7 separate regions of the Homo sapiens genome follow, and regions 2, 3, 4, 5, 6 and 7 are each linked to region 1. Evidence: promoter capture Hi-C in 16 types of primary human blood cells and fetal thymus (Javierre and others, 2016). All regions are on one chromosome and are shown on one strand. The core of a region is centred on a gene start or on the middle of the fragment in contact, and the rest is flanking DNA. Distances in the headings are between cores, read along the strand shown.

Region 1 (2,707 bases), core at 80-2,579:
GTGGGTGACAGAGCGAGACCCTGTCTCAAAAAACAACAAAACAAACAAAAAAATCCAAAAAACAAAAAAGTAGAAAACAGAGGCAGAAAAGACAGGCCAGGAAGAGATTCTCCTAGAAGCTACGGAAAAGAACACAACTTCACCAACACCTTGATTTTAGACCAGTGAGATCCCGTCTGACTTCTCACAACCCTAACAACAACACATTTCCTGTGTTTTACGCCACTAAATTTGTAGTAATTTGTTACAACAGAAAATAATAAACTAATATACCAGGCTTCTTCTAGTCCTTGGATTTCAGAAAAATTTTGACATCAGTAATTGCTACTAAAATGACCCTATAACCCAGGACACTGCCAGTCTTGTGAACTGTTTGGTACTACTCCCTAGGAAGAAAAATACAGAAATTGAGAGTTTATTTGTATATAATTCAATTTCATGTCTGCTGAGTTTAATTATTAAAAACTTAGGCTTGTAATTTTATTTCTTCCATTTCATTTATCTATAAATTTATGGTATTTTACAAAAGTACTGGCTGAGACAAACGGAGATTTTACTTTACTTTTTAAAAAAAGAAGACATTTACAAAAGAGAGGTGAAGCGCTGACAAGTTAAATCACTTGCCCAAGTTCAGAAAGTGATTCATCACCCAGTCATTAAATTAACAAATGTTTATGAAGGGCCTTCTACTCCAGACAGCAAGCTCCATGCTAGAGCTACTGTTCAGAACAAGACCCAGCAGAGCCCTGCCTCTCCGTGTGAGTCCCATTCTCCTTAGCGTCCCAGGAATCGCCCTAGATCGCCTCCCCAGCAGCGCTCCCCGCTGGTTACCTTCCCACCAGCATTCAATCCCAGGAAAACAAGCGCAGTGTGGACAGACCCGGCCCAGTACGCAAATGCCACACAAAAGGACAACGAAAGGAAGAAAAACACCAAGCACAGATTCTAGGGGCCGAGGGCTGAGCCACAACGCACCGCAACTCCGGAAAACTGGGCCCCGGACCTCAGCTCCCCTTCCTAAGCCAGGCTCCGCCCCTATTCCCGACCCCGCCCACCGCGTCGTTGGCGTAATTCCCGCGACTCCCTCTCACCCGCCCGGGCTCCACCTTCTGTAGGGGCTCCACCTTCTGTAGAAGCTCCGAGTGCCGCTCCAACGCGCTCGCGAAACCGCCTGCGCGCGTCTTAGGCTCCTTGGCATTGGAACTACCACTTTCGGATCCACTCTCAGTGCCTACACCCCGAAAGGGCCTGAAGAAGAGAAACACTCGCAGAAAATGGCTCTCGGCAGCCACAGCACGGGTCCGACACAGCGCCGCCATGACTTCTTTACCTCTGACCTTTGACCTCCCCTCCGCAAGCGCGCGGGTCACGGGGCGGAGCTATGAGAGGTCCGCCCCCCGGACGCAGAGCTCTGGAGGCCAACGAGGCGTGTCTTCCTTTCATCTGGGAGTGGCGTGGGGAAGAAGAGACTTAAGCTAAAATTGGTGGGCTAAATAGTTGGAAAGGGGCCTGGTTAAGTTTTGCGTTAGAAGTGCGTTTAACTTGCAGGAATTTCGCCTTCCTGGGCATCCGTTGGACCCCATTGTACTGTAAATTCTGCTAACGCGACGCTCGTTCTCCCGCCCTGCCGTCCCCCCTACATGGCCGCCAGCACTCGAGTTTGGGGTCTTCACTCAAATATGAGGGTCTCCTTGATTACCCTATTTAGAAGTGGAAGCCCAAATGCAGACTCTCTGGCACCTGTTTTTCTTAGTACCATGTAGCACTTTCTAATATGCCACATATTAATATTAAATATTTAATAATATTTAGTGTCTACTCCCAACTTTTTAAACTTTGAAAAGAGGAACTTTGCTGTAGGGTCCCTAGCACCAGGCACAGATTAGGGCTCACCCAACATTTGCCAAACCCTGCATCCAAGTTTGTCCTTTGCCACTTCTGCAGCCAGTCCACTCACGCCACAAAAATAGTTTTTCTGAAATGTTTTGACACCTCTAGATACCTATTATCTAACTTAGGAGTTCAGAAGTTTTGGAATGTCCCTAAGTATTGCACCGCCGTAGGCCCCCACCCTCACTCTGGATTTTCTTTCCCTTTTCTCCTGCAGTGTTAATTCCCAAAATTTACCCACCCTGTTCAAAACAGCCTAACATCATTCTTAAGTGTTTATTAATTAGTTGTCCGTCTATCTTTGACCCAGCAGTTTAATATTAATCCACAGTTAGTTTTATTTTGGGGGCACACACCTTTCCAGTTCATTTGCAAGTACTTCGAGAGAAAGAATTTTTATGATCACAGACCCTATTTTAAGAATGCCTTGACTATGGGTTTTAAGCTTTTCTGATGCTCTCTAATGGTACAGATAGTGTTAAGAACACGAAGTACACTGATCTCAGAATGGTGCACAATTGTATGAATCACATAAAATTATTACTAGCTAACTGTATGGTAGTCCTTACAAATTCATTAAATTCTCCAGGTGAGTTCTCCCTCTTGGCAGTTAAAACTGTTTATCTCCCGAGACTATTAATGGACTCTTGCCTAGAACATTATTTTCTACGGATAGTGCTACTTCCACTTTTTTTCAGGAGAAAGTGTGGTAAATTGTAAAGAGCATGGCCAGTGGTCTTCAAGAACCCTCAGTCTGACTGGGCAGGGTGGCTTACACTTGTAATCCCAGCACTTTGTGAGGTTGAGGAGGGAGGAT
Region 2 (2,707 bases), core at 56-2,555, 460 kb after region 1:
GGGATGGATCATCTGAGGTCGGGAGTTCGAGACCAACCTGACCAACATGGAGAAACCCCGTCTCTAATTTAAAAACAAAACAAAAAAAAAAAACCGAGCCGGGCGTGGTGGCGCATGCCTGTAATCCCAGCTACTCGGGAGGCTGAGGCAGGAGAATCGCTTCAACGCAGAAGGCAGAGGTTGTGGTGAGCCGAGATCGCGCCCTTGTGCTTGGACAACAAGAGCGAAACTTCGTCTCAAAAATAAAAAATAAAAAATAACCTGAATAACCATCGTCTGTCTGCTCCCTAACACTCACAGGATTAGAATTTCTGGGGATAGTACTTAAGCTACCAAAGAGGATGCCATCACTCAGAGATATAGAGGTGATCAGAAAACTGCAAAAGAGACCTTCTTGTCTTTTTCTCTACCAACTGTTATGATTTGTCATTGCCACTAGCATGTATTTGGCAAAACTTGCTATGGCCTTGTTTGTCTTCCTTCTATAAAATGAATTTGTTCTAAAATTTGGAAATAGAAATTACTGTTTTTGTTCTTTCAGTATATTCCAGTGGGTTGCTGCAGAGTAATATTTTTATGTTTTCAATGCTTTTAGTTTACACTTAAATGTTTGTGTTGGAAATGTCTTTTCTGCTAATTCAGTTATTGGAAAAGGGCTGTAATTGAGTAGGGTAGTAAATACTAATTGCTTGTTTCTTTAACTGAATAACATTTTCCTATTGTTAACGGATTGACTACAGGTGTGCTGTTTGACTTTCTATTACTTGTAACTGAAGTTAGCCTCTCTTCCTCTACCCCCGCAAAAGTGTAGGAGACTGGGTGATGGTCTTGTATTCTCTACAAGTTGGTGGCGTTGTTTAGGCCCCAAGCTGGAATGCTGATGACCCTATGATTCTCTCCCTCCACCCTTTACATCTGTTTTATCATGCAAGTTCTGATGATTTTTAGACTATTTTTCTAGGCTCTGCTTCACACCTCATTGACACCTATCTTCCCTAATTAAGGTCTTTTTTTTCTGGCATGTATGTTGCCCTATTAACAGTAGCTTTCCAGAGGGTACATGGCTCACACCTGTAAACTTAGCACTCTGGGAGGCCAAAGCAGGAGGATTGCTTGAGCCCAGGAGTTTGAGACAAGCCTGGGCAACACAGGGAGACTCTTATCTCTACAAAAATTTAAAAAAATAAAATAACTGGGCGTGGTGGCACACATCTTATAGTCCCAGCTACTTGGGAGACTGAGACAGGAGGATCCCTTGAACCCAGGAGGTTGAGGGTACAATAAGCCATGATCTAACCACTGCACTCCAGCCTGGGTGACAGAGTGACACTGTCTCAAAAAAAAAAAAAAAAAAAGGAAAAATAGCTTTCCAACTGATCACAGTATCTGCAGTCTTCATTCCCTGATAATAAATCTCCACCTTGCTGCCATAGGCATCTCTCCTCTTTGCTATTTCGATTATATCACTGCTTCTGAAAACTCTGTAAGGTGCCTATAGCAATGGTTCTAATATTTGGGAGGGAGAAGGGGATTCAAATCTCTCTCTCTCTTTTTTTTTTTTTTTAAGGAGATAGGGTTTCTCTATGTTGACTGGGCTGGTCTTGAACTCCTGGCTACCAGCCATCCTGTCGCCTTCCAAAGTGCTGAGATTACATGGCGCTCTTGTCAAAATGGATGGACATTTACCTCTGAAATGTGCCCAAGTGCATATTTGCATTCCGTAGGGCTTTTTAGAAAATCACATTGAAGTTCTTTTACAAATCTTAACTTTTGAGGATGCTATAGACCATCTTATGTTTTTTTAAAATGCTGGGTTTTTGTTTTGTTGTTTTTTTTTTTTTTAAATGCCGTCGCATTTACTTGAAGTGCTCATCCACCCATCCCACTCTTGGATCCTTTAAAGCTCTGCTCAGGTCTTGTTTCTTCGAAAAAGCATCCCCACACTTTAAAAACAAAAAACTGGATTAGATACACATGCTTTCTGCTCTTATAACACCTTAAGAGTCTTACCCACTAACAGTAACTTCAAATTAGCAACTGAATCATTTTGCTTCCTAGTGTAGACCCTGGCCAAAGTAGGTATTCATTTAATGTTTATTAAATAAATATGTAAAGTTAGGACTTTTCAAGCATTTTCCTTTGAGTAAAATATTTACTATTTTGTAGCCTATGTTCTGGAAATATTGAACATCTAGATAATAGGTTATAAGGATTTTAACTAACTGGACACTTACCTATATTTTCTAAATTTTGGAAGACTTGATATTGAGGTCTCATCCAGACTAAAGTTTTACTAAATGGCATCTTTACAAATAAAAAAATTCAAGATTTCATATTTAGCTCTGAATGTCTGTTTCTTTAAAATCTCCTTGTTTAGCCAGTTTAGACTAATGTCTGAGCTAATTGTGTTTTCCTTTTTGGGAGAGAGGTTAGAAAAGGTCACTACATTTGAAAAGACCAGTTGTGGAAATAGTAATTTTTTTTAACTTATCAGTGATATCTGATGTTATCAGTATACTAAAAGTGGACATAGAACGTTAAAGAAGGAACCAAAGAGGCAAAGATACCTGGAGTTATTAGGGACCTATTTTGAGATTTTGTCTCTGGCACTAAGAATTTATTAATTTATTGAGTTTAGCAAATGATATTGGCAGTTTATTTTAGTGCTTTGTGCTTATTTAGCTCTTTAACCCAAATCCTCTAATAA
Region 3 (2,707 bases), core at 83-2,582, 410 kb before region 1:
CCACATATTATACTATAAAACCATAACAAAAATATTTTAAGTTTGTTCTCACTTGTTGTTGACCTCCAGAGTAAAATATTTAATACTCTGGAAAGTTATGGGTTTCAAAATTTATTTTATGGCAAGAAATAGATAATTACAGTTCTCATAGAGCACATTTAAAATAATTTATTTTTATAGGGCAAAAATATTGCCTAGGACTGAATGATTTTTTTTTTTTTACAAAGATTGTAAAGCAACGCCTGCAAGAGTGCCCATTTAGCAGTTATTCTTCTGGAATAATTGTATTTTGGATGTTGGAGTTCGCACATTAACCATTAGTACAAGTACCCAATATAACAATAGATCATCAGGATAATAAATCTGTCCATCTTTTAGTTGTATGTCTTTATATCAGGATAAAGAGAATTGAGTGAAATTTATCTAAACCTAGTCCCACAAATACTTTTACAAGAGAGCATGTTAAAGTGTAAATTAAATTTTTATTAGCATTCTACTCTGTCTTTGGAAGTTTTTTTTCCTTATGAAATGCAGCCATAAAGTTTAACTTCCATTAACAAAGCTGCTCACAGTAAACCTATTATAATAATAGTTTCCCAGTTTGGGCTTCCTAGTGAGGAGCAACCTAACTCACACGAAACAACCCCAACTTATAATATATTGACTGTTACAAAACTGAGACCAGAAAATCCCATCAAGATGGTACTGTTATCATTTCCAGACTCTCGGGAAGAACATTAATCATCTCAGGCACTTTTAGGATAGACTTATTGCAGCCTCCCTGGGAACTCTGCTTCAGAACATAATTATTTTTATTAATGCAGAGTTACTTTTTATTTCCAACAAAAATATCTATTGTTATTATTTAAGTCTTACAGCTTTATCTGAGAAATTCCAATTAGCACCCTTCTCATAATAAATATTCAAACACATGAAAAATTACCAAAGTTGTTCTAGTCTTTTAATGACATATTACATGATCCTGCACTCTTGTCACTTTAAAAATTATCTTTTTATTATATTTCTGATGATTTTTTTCTTATATAGTTTTTTAAAAGGAGCAGGCAAGCATAGAAGACTAAAAAATGTTCAAAAGAAAAATTAAATCGCATGATCTATCTATATGGGACCTTGTCATTTTTAGAAAACATTCACCTGCTTCATCCTTTTGAATCTTCATATAATCCCTCTGAGATGGGCATACTATACAAGTTGTCTTATTTAAAGATTGGTAAATTTAAGCTCAAATAATTTATTCAGTGGCAAGCCTCAGAGGCAGACTCGGAACACAGGTCTAATATATATTATATATATATTATAACATATAATATATATATTACATATAATAAAGTTGTGTATATTATTTACCTATCAAAATATTTATATGTAATATATAAATATGTTATATATCATGTATGTGCCTATTTCATACATATATACACATTCATGCAAAATAAGGTTTAGCACTCCCTCCACTGTCCTGTAATAAAACATGCACAGTGAGAATAGTCATACACGAGGCATATTTGTCTTCAGTTTAAAGTCATTGATAGTCAGTGTCACTAACTAAAGTAAAATAGATTGGAGCACCAACTTTGTTCTGAAGCCTGTGCCAGGTATTATGAGAACAAAAATAAAAATGTTCCTCACCCTTGGTGGATTTAGTCTTTTGCAGAAAAAAAGATCCTGTACATGTCAGAAAGTTCAATAGTAATAATGGTAATTTATAACTATAAATGGAAGTCACCATCTCACAATTTCACCATCTTAACAATTTTGTTAAACTGCCCTACAATATTACAAGATAGTACATAATGATACACTAGTAACATCAACTAGGAAGTACCAAGATCCACCAAAAGGCTGAAAAATTTAAATATTTAATGAGTCCATCAACCAATCTGGCCAGAGAATTCTTTAATTAAAATGCTTCCCAAATTTTACTGAGAATCAGCAGCGTTTGAGGAGCTAGCCTCCACCCCCAGAGGTTCTCACTCTATTAGGTCTGAAGCAGGTCCCATGGATTTGCATTTCTAACAAGCTCCCAGGTGGTGCTGATGAGGCTGATTCAGAACCACACTTGGAGTAGACCTAAAACAGCAGTGACCTGTAGGGTCCCCAAGCAGCAGGCCAGGACAGCATGTGAGTTACGTCCTCTGTGGAGCTCTGCAACAAGGCGTCAAGAGGTCAGAGTCTAAGTCCCCATCAGCTCTGCCCTTCTCCACCAGTGCTGCTGGTGCTGCATGGAAGGAAGAGCCCAGAAGGGATTCTGAGTTTCAGTCTTTACTCTTGCTGACGCACCTTGGTCAGGTCAATTTTCCTGTTTGTTCCTCTAATTCAGCATCTGTAAAATAGCCATGTGAACTGCCTTGTCCATATCAGAGGGTCTTTTTCAGACTCAAGGAAAAAAACGTGAAAGTGATTAGTGTCTGTCAAGTAGTATATAAATGCAAGAAGTTGAGTTTTTAAATTGTCATTAGATATAAATACCCATGTGCATGCATTTAGAATGAGTAAAGAGGGAACAAGGAGCGCAATCAAAAACTGCGTCATTTGCTTTTTGAAAAATACTTTCTATGTAATGAAAAGTGAAATAAAATGTTAATTGAGTCCCTCTGACAACAGCATCAGACGTTTTGCAGTTCTTGTGATTAGAACCCACCTGGCCAGCCCTTCTTCCTCCTAAAGAAGAGCCTTCTTCTTCTTA
Region 4 (2,707 bases), core at 103-2,602, 370 kb before region 1:
GGCAGGGTCTCACAGTGTAGCATTGAGTTAGCAGGAGGTGCAACATGGTAGAGAAATGGGAATCCATCATGAAAGCTGGAATTTTGTCAAATTTTCCCATGGTGAGTGGATTCAGGGAGGCTGATTCATGCTTTTGAAATGTGTAAGACTTCTATACAAGCCTCACGAGGCAATCTGTAGGAAAAATGTTACACTGGAAATATTAATGTCTATATATTATATTGATATAAGTATAAATAACATTTGATTTAATATTTGTTTAATATATGACATTAAATATATATTTAATTAAAATATTAAATTAGAAAAATATATTTGCCAGAAAAGGCCAGGGTATTTATGAACACTGGTAAGCCCATTCTAGGGTATAATAGCATCACATGGGACCATAGCAAAGATTAGCTCATAGGGGATGTTTCATCCAGTTCTGGTATCCTGGTGCCCTTCTCTTCAACAACCTAAACATATATTCATTCCCATGAGTCAGGAGGAGCTGTGCTGGAGTTCTTCTGAAAAATGCTGTCTTTCACTTTTGTACTCTCTATGCTGTCTCCCACCTATCCCCTCAAAAAACCTTTCCTTTGAAAATATACAGTATAGCTGTGAGTAGTTTAGCTGTGTCCGTTTCCAGAAATTGGAATAAGCATTGAGAAATGGGATGTTTGAGAAAGACGCCTCAATCCTTTTCTGAGCAGTCAGTCACCCTTCCCGCCAGTAGCAAGTGCCTTTGTGTGATAGGCATTGGAGATGCAGAGCAAAACAGGAGTGTGCCTGTCATCAGAGCCCTGAGAGTTTAATTAGATGAGCCTCCTGTTTTCTATTTCTCAGAGTTTCATGTCTTCTGTTAGAGATGGCCCTTCTCATCTAAGGTTCAAAAAACCTTATCCTGAAGTTCTGATGATTCTGTTTTCATTCTCAGTCTCTGACTGCAAATATCCAACTAGAAACAAAGGAAATCAGGCATGAAAACTTTTAAAGATATAATTGCATGGAGATCTTCATTTGTGCTCGTGAGGAATTTTTGAAAGCATTGCTGGGGAAGGGTGTGTGGGCTCTGATGCAGCAGTAAGACACTGAGGCTCTCAGAGGTCCGTGGACGAGTACTGCTGACTTGGGCAAGAACCGGAATAGTTACCTGATGCCTTATCCGAAACATGAAAGTTCGGATTAAATTTGTATTTATAAGCTAGTGTTTTTATACTCTCAGAACAATGTCATTGCGTTTCACCCAAGTGAGTCAAGTCACGATTTGGAAGAGGCAACAGAATTTGGCTCTCTCCAGGTGATTTATGGCGGTATAGGAACACATGTTTTACTCAGATACAGGGGAGCAAAGTTCCATTTGCTAAAGTTTACTCCCCTGACCTTCAACCAGTCAGTCTTCCTCCATCTGCCACCACTTTGCACTTCTCCAGAGAACTAAGGATGTTCCCGCTTGACCAGTGCTCATAACATGGACAGCAGAGGGCCACTGTGTGATCTCTTTGAGATCACTGTGACTCAACCTTCTTCTCACATCCTAGGCCCTAAAACAATTAAGTGAAGTTGCTAGGAACGGTACCTGCTGATCTTATTGCAGCATTCTCAATTAGGCCTCAATGCAAGATTTATATCACTGGCAGTCCTGGAGCATTTTTGTTTTTCAAATTACACATACCCAAACACACGGCATAGCCTCCTTTTTTGTTTGTTTGTTTTTTTGAGATAGAGTCTCGCTGTGTCGCCCAGGCTGGAGTGCAGTGGCACGATCTCAGCTCACTGCAACCTCTGCCTCCTGGGTTCAAGTGATTCTCATGTCTCAGCCTCCCAAGTAGCTGAGATTACAGGCGTATACCACCACGCCCAGCTAATTTTTGTATTTTTAGTAGAGACAGGGTTTTGCCGTGTTGGCCAAGCTGGTCTCAAACTCCTGACCTCAAGTGATCCACCCACCTCGGCCTCCCGAAGTGCTGGGATTACAGGTGTGAGCCACCGTGCCCAGCCAGGGCATATCCTTCTTGATTTCAATTGTAAAATAGTTCAAAAATTTTCCATATTTTATCTAATATTTCCAGAAGTGCTAGCTTTTAACGGACCATTTTTTTCCTCTGTGTGTTTTTTTCTCTTCACCTAGCCCAGCCATGCTCAGCTCATTTTTGTACTCTTTCCACTCCCAACCAAATTTAGTGCCCTCCCCCATACATGCATACATGTACATCTGCACACCACTTTTCCTGCAAATAATCAACCCAAAGAGTGCTTAAAATTCCTGACATCAACCCACAGAATCTCCAAGGATGGGACCCAGCATCCATACATTTTAAAAACTCTCCATATAGTTCCAATATGCAGCCAGATTTGAGAACTAGTGGTTCGTAGCCTGTTCTGATTTAAATCTCAGCTCTCAGCAGTCTATCCCACGTCACATAATGCAGCCCAGAGAAATTCTAGGACCACATTTTTTTCTGGTATTTCATAGCTAATGAGGTGCTTTTCAAATCTAATAGGATCTTTGGCCAGTGTCAGTCAAGATCTTTTATCTCCTCAATAAAAAGGAAATACCATATTTACTTTGATTTGATGTATATCACATAGGTGGATTTAATACAAAATTGTGGTTTACATATTGTGAATGTGTATACTAAAACTACTTTGCTTTTTCCTAAAATAAGACAAAGTTTTATATTGGAAGTAATATTTAGCATTTTGTTTGAATGAAGTTACTCCT
Region 5 (2,707 bases), core at 58-2,557, 330 kb before region 1:
TCAGACTGGTAATGATATAGGTGTAGTGGTTCTAGACCCTACGTCTGCACATGACAAGATCTAAAAGAAGAGGGTAAAAGTTGCTTCCAGAACTTTTCCCAGAAAAAGAAAACAAATTAAGGAGTCCCCAACAAACCTGTCCTCTTGCATTTGGATCTGAATTGAATCCTGAAACAATCAGTAGCAAATGGGACAGGATTACCCTTTGACCTTGTGATAGAAAAGAGGAAAAGTGAATTTTCCTTGCTCAGTGGCAAGGTTCTGGAAGAATATGTGACACTGGAATTGTTGTTGCAACTTCTTTTGGAAAATGAAACCTGCCACAAGGAAAATGGGAGCTTGATAGGCCACCAAAAATATTCATCACCAGCAGGTAAGTCCTGTATACAAACACCCACCTGCTTGCTGTACAAAGTGATAGGTGCTTTAAGGCATAAGATGCAACCACAAAAATGTAAGTATGAAAAGTAATGCTTAGCTTAATTATCTTGATTTAGCCATTTCATAATACATATATATGCCAAAACATCATGTTATACACCATTAGTATATATAGTTTTGTCAGTTTAAAATAATAATAAAATTAAAAAGCATGCAAAGTGCTAAAACAGTTCAAAAATGCAAGAGATTATATTTCTGATTGCAGGGGTGTGCAGAGAAGACAGCATTTGTAAGTGAATCATGAAGTATGGGAAAGGTGTGTATATGGGGAAATATAGATAAGAGGATTCCAGTGAGAGATCAAGTAAGTAAATCCCAAGACACAAGAAAGTGTGTGAAAAATAGAATTCCAGATTAAGGGACTTCCATAGGTAAATCCAGAGGAGGAGGTGTCTAAGCAACAGTGTAAAGTTCATTCAAACAATCGCTCATCTCTTATACTTATTAAAGATTTATAATAATGTTTTCCTAAGACTCTCCTCTGAAAACTGTTGGCAAAATAATATAAGTAAGTAAATTGAATAACAGGTAAGCAGGCCAGCAGACAGGAGAAAAGAGAAGTGACAGGGGGTGGTGGAGAGAGAAAGAAACAAAGCACATCCATAGTAGGCACCCTCTGTTGGAAGCCACCAGCTTACCTGATTGACCTAATGGCTGCCTACACTGACTTCATGGCACTCGGGCTGATGACCCATCTTAATTGATTTTGTGCCACCATAACAAAAGACCTGAGACTAGGCAATTTATAAATAACAGAAATTTAATTCTCACAGTTCTAGGGGCTGGGAAGTCCAAAATCAAGGTGCCAGCATCTGGTGAGGTTCTTCCTGCTGTGTCCTTACAGGGAAGAAGGCAGAAGGGGCAAGAGAAAGTGATCCCACTCCTGCAAGCCCTTATTATATCAGCATTAATTCATTCATGAGGGCAGAACCCTCCTGGCTGAAACATCTCCCAAAAGGTCCCATCTCCTAACACTGTTGCATTGGAAATTAAATTTCCAACACATGAGTTTGGAGACACATTCAGACCATAGCACTTTCTATAAATGAAAGGGTTGATTTTAAACCACCAGGTGTTCTCAGCCTATTTCACATAGAAAATAATCATATTTCTTCATAACCCAGATAAGCAGGATTGAGGGCTAGAGGTGACCTGCTCCTGCACAGGGGCTGTAGCCCCCTAAGAGCTGAGAAGATCAATACCCCACCACACATGTAACATGGCTTAGACTACAGTGGGTCCCAGCCTCAGTTGCATGCTGAAGTCCCTTTATGAATTTTTACAAGATTACTGATGCAGTAGTATCTCCCAATATTGTGAATAATTGATCCTGGATATAGCCAGGCCACAGAATGTTTTGAATATTTGCTTCATGGTTTTTGAATACATTGCTCTACAACCTGATCATCAAGAACTCTCTAGAATTGACTCTTACAGAATGAAGTCTTGAAGGCTTAATAGTTCAGAGTTCATCTTCACAATTGGAGTTTCTACCTTGTAATAGCATTTAATCATTTATCTACAAAGGAACAGGAATAACTCTGTGACTGGAGGGGAAAAGCTCACTCTAAATGTTTGTATTATGCTAAACTTCCAACTATGTAGAAGTATCTGGACAATTTTTTTAAATTTCCAATCCAGATGTGTGATTTTATTTAGACTCCCAGGGGAAAACTCTGTTTCTGACATTCCTAATGAGAAGAGACATTTTTGTTATTAGACATTGAGGAATTTGGGCATGAATAACTCAGGCTGGGAGTGCTGTTTGTGACTCAAATGTATGTATCTCCAAATTGGTCTCTGCCCATGATAAAATAGGGGAAAAAAAAACTGCTTAACTGCCTATGACATAAGATTTTCACTGAGTTGGCAATACATTTTCCAATAGAGGAGTCAGGGGTAACTTAGGTAATTTTAGTAGCAAAGGCCCACGGGAAGTTTCCTACCATGGATTATATTCTTTAGTTCATCAGTACAACCATATGAAGGGTGAAGAAATGCTTTCAGCCACCAACCAACAGTGAATTCACTTCTTCTTGGGGTCTAGACAACCCTGCTATGTGCAGATTAGATCCCTCCACCTCCACCAGAAGGTTCGTTTTCCAGATGAATCTCAGCCAGCTGCATGCTGTTGTCATTCTAGTCTGGTGAAAAGCAACATGTATCTCTTTATTTTGTCACCTGAAATACAAAAAGGATTATGACATTTTGGGTAGTGTTGTGGGTTACTGGCCATAGATGGAGATAGCAGCTCTGGGGTGATTCT
Region 6 (2,707 bases), core at 126-2,625, 310 kb before region 1:
AGAAAGTTATTTCTTTACATAGGTATTTTCTTCCTATTTACTACTACACCACCAAATAGCTTGTCCAAAAAATTTGAGACAGTCTATTCAATAAATAAATGTGTAGATAGATAGATAGATATTAATAAGACACAGATAAGTAAATAAATCTTGGAAAGGGGAAATAAGGGTAATGAAAATAAAACCAGGATTTAATTCAGTATATTTAATACATCTCATCAAGTGCTTCACACTTGCTAGAAATAGGCTATGACTTTGGCTTCAGAAGCCTAGCAGCCAATACAGAAAAGAAACCTCAGTCGGGGAAAATGTATCAATCCCATGGAGGAACTTGCAGTTAGAAAAGACTATATTTGAATCCCAGTTCTAACCAGCTGTGCGGCCTTGAGTGCAAGTCATTGAACATTCTAAGTCTCAGTTTCCTCTTCTATATAATGGGAATGATAATACCTGACTCTCAGAGCTGTCAACTATACAAGTCAACTCTCCAGCAGAACACCTTACATTCAGCAAATGTTTAATATGAGTCATCAGTTAAACAGTTCACACTATCAATAGAATAAAAATTAAACCAGTTGCTGGGGACCAGCTAGCAAATAGCTAACCGACTAGTACCAGCAGCAATCCAATGAGACTCAAGTAAGGAGAGGAAAAAGATCCTACACACTTTAGCAATGCTGGAGGTTTGAATCAGTTACTGTAAACAGTAAAATAATTTACACATGGACACAAATTCGGCAGTGATTTTAGGCTTCAACATGCAGCATATGGGCTTGGTTGTGTGCATGCATGTGTGTGTGCCCACGTGTACGTGTTATACTATTGTTTTTAATTTAGTAGTCCCTTGACTAAATTCTCTCTTCACAGATTTGCCCAGGCAGCTTCAACACTGACCTTCCTTTTTCTATTTTCTTTTCCTTTTTTGCTTTTTTTTGTTGTTGTTGTTGTTGGTTTGTTGTTGTTTTTTTTTGTTTGTTTTTGTTTTTTTTGAGACAGAATGTCTCTCTGTCACCCAGGCTGGAGTGCAGTGGTGTGATCTCGGCTCACTGCAACCTCAGCCTTCGGGGCTCACTCAATTCTCCCGCGTCAGCCTCCCCAGCAGCTGGGATTACAGGCGCCCTCCACCATGCCTGGCTAATTTTTGTATTTTTAGTAGAGACGGGGTTTCATCCTGTTGGCCAGGCTGGTCTTGAACTCCTGAGTTCAAGTGATCCGCCCACATCAGCCTCCCAAAGTGCTAGGATTACAGGTGTGAGCCACAGCCTGAACCACAGCGCCCAGCCTTCCTTTTTCTTTCTTCTTTTTTTTTTTTTTACAAGTAAACTGGGCTTCCTGGCTCTGCATTCCTCTCTCCCACCTTCTCATCCATCAATGGAGGCTGTGAACTTTCTCTAGCAGAAAAGGCAAGTGGGTCCATTGGACAAGACTAACATAATTTTAATGAGTCAACCAGTGAGAAGTGCTGGACTCACTAACCAGGTGGCGGATTTCTCTACTCGATCTCCCAGACTTCATGCACACCAGCCCCTTTTGGCCCAGTCACATCTTTCAGCTCCAGATGTACTGGGATCCCAGTCAGCAGGCTCATGCCTCTCATTCTACCTCTGAAATCCTCAATTGCTGAGCCATGATGATTTTTCCACACCTCACCCCAGGGTGTGTCAGCACACAAAGCCAGAGAGTTTGAAATCTTTTGAGCTCATTAAAATAGATGTGCAACTGGGGTCTACTAACCCTGCTCTCCAGTGTCCACAACTCTGGCTCCCCACACCCTACTGTCCCCTAAACTCACAGCACAACTAGATCCCATTAATAAGGGCACACTAGCTGTCCCTAAAGGTCTGGAAACAATAAGGTCATGCTCATTCCCACTTGAGCCTGGTTTGACCTGCAGTGGAGCCATAGCCCATGCAGCCTCCCACCTTAGCACTCCCTGGAGGCCATAAAAGACACCAATTAGAGCCAAATCACACTTTCCCATAGGGGCCAACGTTTTCATATTTCTCAGGAAACGTATTATTTTTATCCAAAACTGATATGAAATACTCCAAAAAAGAAACTTTTAAATGTATGATCAGAAAAGTAGAAGTAGAAAACAACTAAATGTCCTTTACTAGGAAACATAGTACTCCTTGGGAAAGAGACAGATTTGATGGGGGAGGGAATCTCTGGAGCTCAGATAACAGCAGCATGGAAGGAATATATTTTTATTATCAGAGAAGTTAGAAAACAGTAGGGGAAACCCAGTTAGCCAAACTTGACAAAAAAGCACATCACATCAGTCAACAGCAAGATTTGAATGCCTGCCAAGCATGGCTCGTGATTAGACAGGGAAAACAGCATCTGGCTTAAGACCTTGAGTTTTGGTGTCAAGTTGATTTGGGGATCATGTTCTGGGTTCTTACTGACGGTTGTTAACCTGGCTCTCCCACCTACTAGCTGCAGGACTTGGGATAAGTAACTCAGTAACTTAAACCTTAGTCTCTTCTTCTGTAAAGTGGGGCTAATCATATCTCTTCCATAAAACTGCTGTGAGTTTAAATAACTTATTAATGTGCAGAGACAAGGGTTGGCCAACAAATATTTACAAGTGCCTGTTACGATCTAGACAGTTGTATAAGAAATAGTTACTGCTCTCAAACAGCGCATAGTCTAAAGAAGAAGAAAAGGGCAAATGCCTACTTATAATATAATGCAATACCTGTTC
Region 7 (2,707 bases), core at 150-2,649, 270 kb before region 1:
TCTGGGCAACACAGTGAAACATCGTCTCTACTAAAAATACAAAAATTAGCCGGGCGTGGTGGCAGGTGCCTGTAGTCCCAGCTACTCAGAAGGCTGAGGCAGGAGAATTGTTTGAACCTGGGAGGTGGAGAGCGAGACTCCACCTCCAAAAAAAAAAAAAGAAAAGAAAGGTGACCAATATCCCTACATTCCCACTAGGCACACAGAAGTGGGAATAAATAAGGAAATAAATAAATAAGGAAATAGACTTGAAGAATGATGTTTGAGTTTGGTTTTTTTTTAAAGCAGAATTTTGGCTGGACGCAGTGGCTCACACCTGTAATCCCAAAACTTTAGGAAGCCAAGGTGGGAGGATCGCTTGAGTCCAGAAGTTTGCATACCAAGACCCTGTCTCTCTATAAAAATAAAAATAAATAAAATAAATAAAAGCAGAATTTTATAATAGTGAAGAGGAAGTACTGAAGTGAAACATAAAATTATCTTCCCTGGGAGTAGTGAAGGTGGGGGCTGGAGGATAAAGACCTGCCTGTCTGGCTCTCTTTTGCTCTGCTTTTTTTTTTTTTTTTTTTTTTTTTTTTGACAGTTTTGCTCAGGCTGGAGTTCAATGGCGCAATCTCGGCTCACCACAACCTCCACCTGCTGGGCTCAAGCAATTCTCCAGTCAACCTCCCAAGTAGCTGTGATTATAGGCATGTGCTACCACACCTGGCTATTTTTGTTTGTTTGTTTGTTTGGTTTTTTGTTTTTTTTTAGTAGAGATGGGTTTCTCCATGTTGGTCAGGCTGGTCTCAAACTCCAGGCCTCAGGTGATCCGCCCGCATCTGCCTCCCAAAGTGCTGGGATTACAGGCATGAGCCACCCTGCCCGGTTGCTCTGCTTCTTAGTGGAGACCAAGGGGGTGGATAGGATTCATTCACTCATTCAACAAATACTTACTGAGAGCCTCTAATGTGCTAGGCAATTTTAAGTGACAGAACTGTAGAAGTGAACAAACCAGGCAAAAACAGATAATAAACAGTCAATGAAGTATCTATTCTGTCAGATAATTCTGGGTACGGTGGAGATAAACAAAAGAAGAAAGGGAGGTAGGGAGAGGCAGATGTGGGGATGAGAGACTGAGAGTGGGATGATTGTTTTAAATAGAGTTGCAAGGAAAGACCTGGTGGGGAAGGTGACCTTTGAGCAGAGCCGCAAGTAGAGATTACAGATAGGTCAGCAGACCGTTGGGGGAAAAGCATTCCAGGCAGAGGGAACGGCCAACACAAAGGCCTGGAGATGCAAACATGTAGAGCACGTTCCCACAAGAGCAGACAGCAAGTGTGGCTGGAGCAGTGAGGAGGGGCGAGTGGTAGGAAATGAGGTCAAAGAGGATGATCAAAGCCTCAGATATGTCATTCTTTAATTTTATGATTCAGTGCTGCATTTATGGAACACCCCTAAGCACCAGAAACAAAACCATGCCCAGGGGAGGCATTTAAAAAAAAAAAATACTAAAAGTAGCTACAGAAACTGTTTGGGTATCAACTCTATCAGAGGTAAACGGCAGTCTCTTTCTGGCTAAAATATAACGTTTTCAAGTCTCTTCTGCTACATCAAGCCATAGATAACCTACCAACCATCTATGATTAAGAGTTTTCAAATTTAGGCATGGTCTTTTAACTTGACTGTAACAAAAAATACCAACATAGGAGTAAATTCAATGGGAAATTTTACAACCAAACTATAAAGAAGCCTAATGTGGCAGTGGATTAACGCAAAATCCAGATACCTGTCTGTGTTCCTCAGACTCATCTCTTAGGGACATTTGTTTACCTTGAATTTTGCTGGGATTTACAGGCTTGGGGGAACAGTTCTGTGACAAGTGCCTATCAATACCTACAGACAGCTCAAAAAGAAAGGCCTGGATTTCTTTTTCCTTGGCTTTCTTCTCGCCTCTCCCCACCCCCCGCCCCAGAGCAGAACACTGAAGGATCTGAGAGAAAAACCCTGCAGCTCATCAAGATCAAGGCAGGCATTATATTTCAAGTTGAAGTTCAAAACAGCTTGCTTTTTGCTGAGACGTCTTACTTCCTGAAATCAGATGATGCCTTTTAGTACTTCAGCGTGCTGAGTCACAAGCGAGCTACACACTCGCTCTTTCATTTCAGGCTGCCAGGCTGAGAACTCGTCTTCCTCCATGGTAAAGGGAATGCAAGGACCCAGTTGAGAACACCTTTGGAAGAGGTTTCTGTGAAGCAGAAACCTCTCTCCTTGCTTTATTTTACCTTGAGGAAATTGGACAGCCCAGAAGTAATTTTTTAAAAAACTCTGCACGTAATCTTTACATAATATCACCTACAGCTGCCTAAAGACTGCAGTGTTGATTTTATTTTAGCTTATGTTTACCCATTTATTGTAGCGTATTCAAAGCACGGATGACAAAGATATTAGAAAATTCTAGCCCTCCAGAGAGCCATTCAGATTAGAGCCCTGGAAGCTGAGAAATAGTTGTTGCCCATGGCTCAGTCTTGCTGGAAGACAGGTTTTGGTGAATTAGTGACTAACCAATAAAAATTGGACAATTTCACATAAAAAATCCAAATTTGGAGATGCCTTTGGAAACTTGAAAGATCTGCTAACACTGGACTAAAATTTCTGCATAGGAACAATCGGCGACTCCTCAGCCAGACCCGGAGACAGAATGGGTGCTGGGAAAATATGACGTCCT

Evidence for each region. The method cuts DNA at HindIII sites, captures the fragments that hold promoters and counts their contacts. A CHiCAGO score of 5 or more calls a contact.
Region 2: a fragment that was not itself captured here is called in contact with the fragment with the promoter of MRPS28 in region 1 in 1 of 17 cell types (fetal thymus); the score reaches 5.5 in fetal thymus.
Region 3: a fragment that was not itself captured here is called in contact with the fragment with the promoter of MRPS28 in region 1 in 1 of 17 cell types (megakaryocytes); the score reaches 5.7 in megakaryocytes.
Region 4: a fragment that was not itself captured here is called in contact with the fragment with the promoter of MRPS28 in region 1 in 1 of 17 cell types (M2 macrophages); the score reaches 5.6 in M2 macrophages.
Region 5: a contact is called between a fragment that was not itself captured here and the fragment with the promoter of MRPS28 in region 1, in 7 of 17 cell types (M2 macrophages, M0 macrophages, M1 macrophages and 4 more). The highest score is 10.3, in M2 macrophages.
Region 6: a fragment that was not itself captured here is called in contact with the fragment with the promoter of MRPS28 in region 1 in 5 of 17 cell types (M0 macrophages, M1 macrophages, M2 macrophages and 2 more); the score reaches 7.7 in M0 macrophages.
Region 7: a contact is called between a fragment that was not itself captured here and the fragment with the promoter of MRPS28 in region 1, in 14 of 17 cell types (megakaryocytes, non-activated CD4 T cells, endothelial precursors and 11 more). The highest score is 12.6, in megakaryocytes.

What each region holds. Positions count from the first base shown.
Region 1 is chr8:80,028,930-80,031,636 of GRCh38, forward strand. It overlaps MRPS28 (mitochondrial ribosomal protein S28), which reads right to left and starts at 1,330. Exons shown (of 3, transcript NM_014018.3): 1 at 1,107-1,330. The coding sequence starts at 1,319. The region is part of intron 5 of TPD52-MRPS28 (TPD52-MRPS28 readthrough); the gene reads right to left. It also overlaps a transcript of TPD52 not described here. RefSeq lists an enhancer at 1,053-1,482. The HindIII fragment of the contact is 3,845 bases long and covers 1-2,333 here.
Region 2 is chr8:80,493,587-80,496,293 of GRCh38, forward strand. All of the region lies in intron 1 of ZBTB10 (zinc finger and BTB domain containing 10), which reads left to right. Among named protein-coding and RNA genes, the nearest start is that of ZBTB10, 8.7 kb to the left of the region's middle. The HindIII fragment of the contact is 4,137 bases long and covers 1-2,707 here.
Region 3 is chr8:79,618,861-79,621,567 of GRCh38, forward strand. All of the region lies in intron 1 of STMN2 (stathmin 2), which reads left to right. It overlaps LOC105375916 (a long non-coding RNA gene), which reads right to left. Exons shown (of 3, transcript XR_007060974.1): 3 at 2,272-2,344. Among named protein-coding and RNA genes, the nearest start is that of STMN2, 9.1 kb to the left of the region's middle. The HindIII fragment of the contact is 3,015 bases long and covers 1-2,707 here.
Region 4 is chr8:79,655,191-79,657,897 of GRCh38, forward strand. The region is part of intron 4 of STMN2 (stathmin 2); the gene reads left to right. Among named protein-coding and RNA genes, the nearest start is that of STMN2, 45 kb to the left of the region's middle. The HindIII fragment of the contact is 4,240 bases long and covers 1-2,707 here.
Region 5 is chr8:79,700,625-79,703,331 of GRCh38, forward strand. No RefSeq gene overlaps it. Among named protein-coding and RNA genes, the nearest start is that of HEY1, 66 kb to the right of the region's middle. The HindIII fragment of the contact is 3,579 bases long and covers 1-2,707 here.
Region 6 is chr8:79,718,296-79,721,002 of GRCh38, forward strand. The region is part of intron 1 of LOC124901965 (a long non-coding RNA gene); the gene reads right to left. Among named protein-coding and RNA genes, the nearest start is that of HEY1, 48 kb to the right of the region's middle. The HindIII fragment of the contact is 3,442 bases long and covers 1-2,707 here.
Region 7 is chr8:79,758,987-79,761,693 of GRCh38, forward strand. No RefSeq gene overlaps it. Among named protein-coding and RNA genes, the nearest start is that of HEY1, 7.4 kb to the right of the region's middle. The HindIII fragment of the contact is 5,303 bases long and covers 1-2,707 here.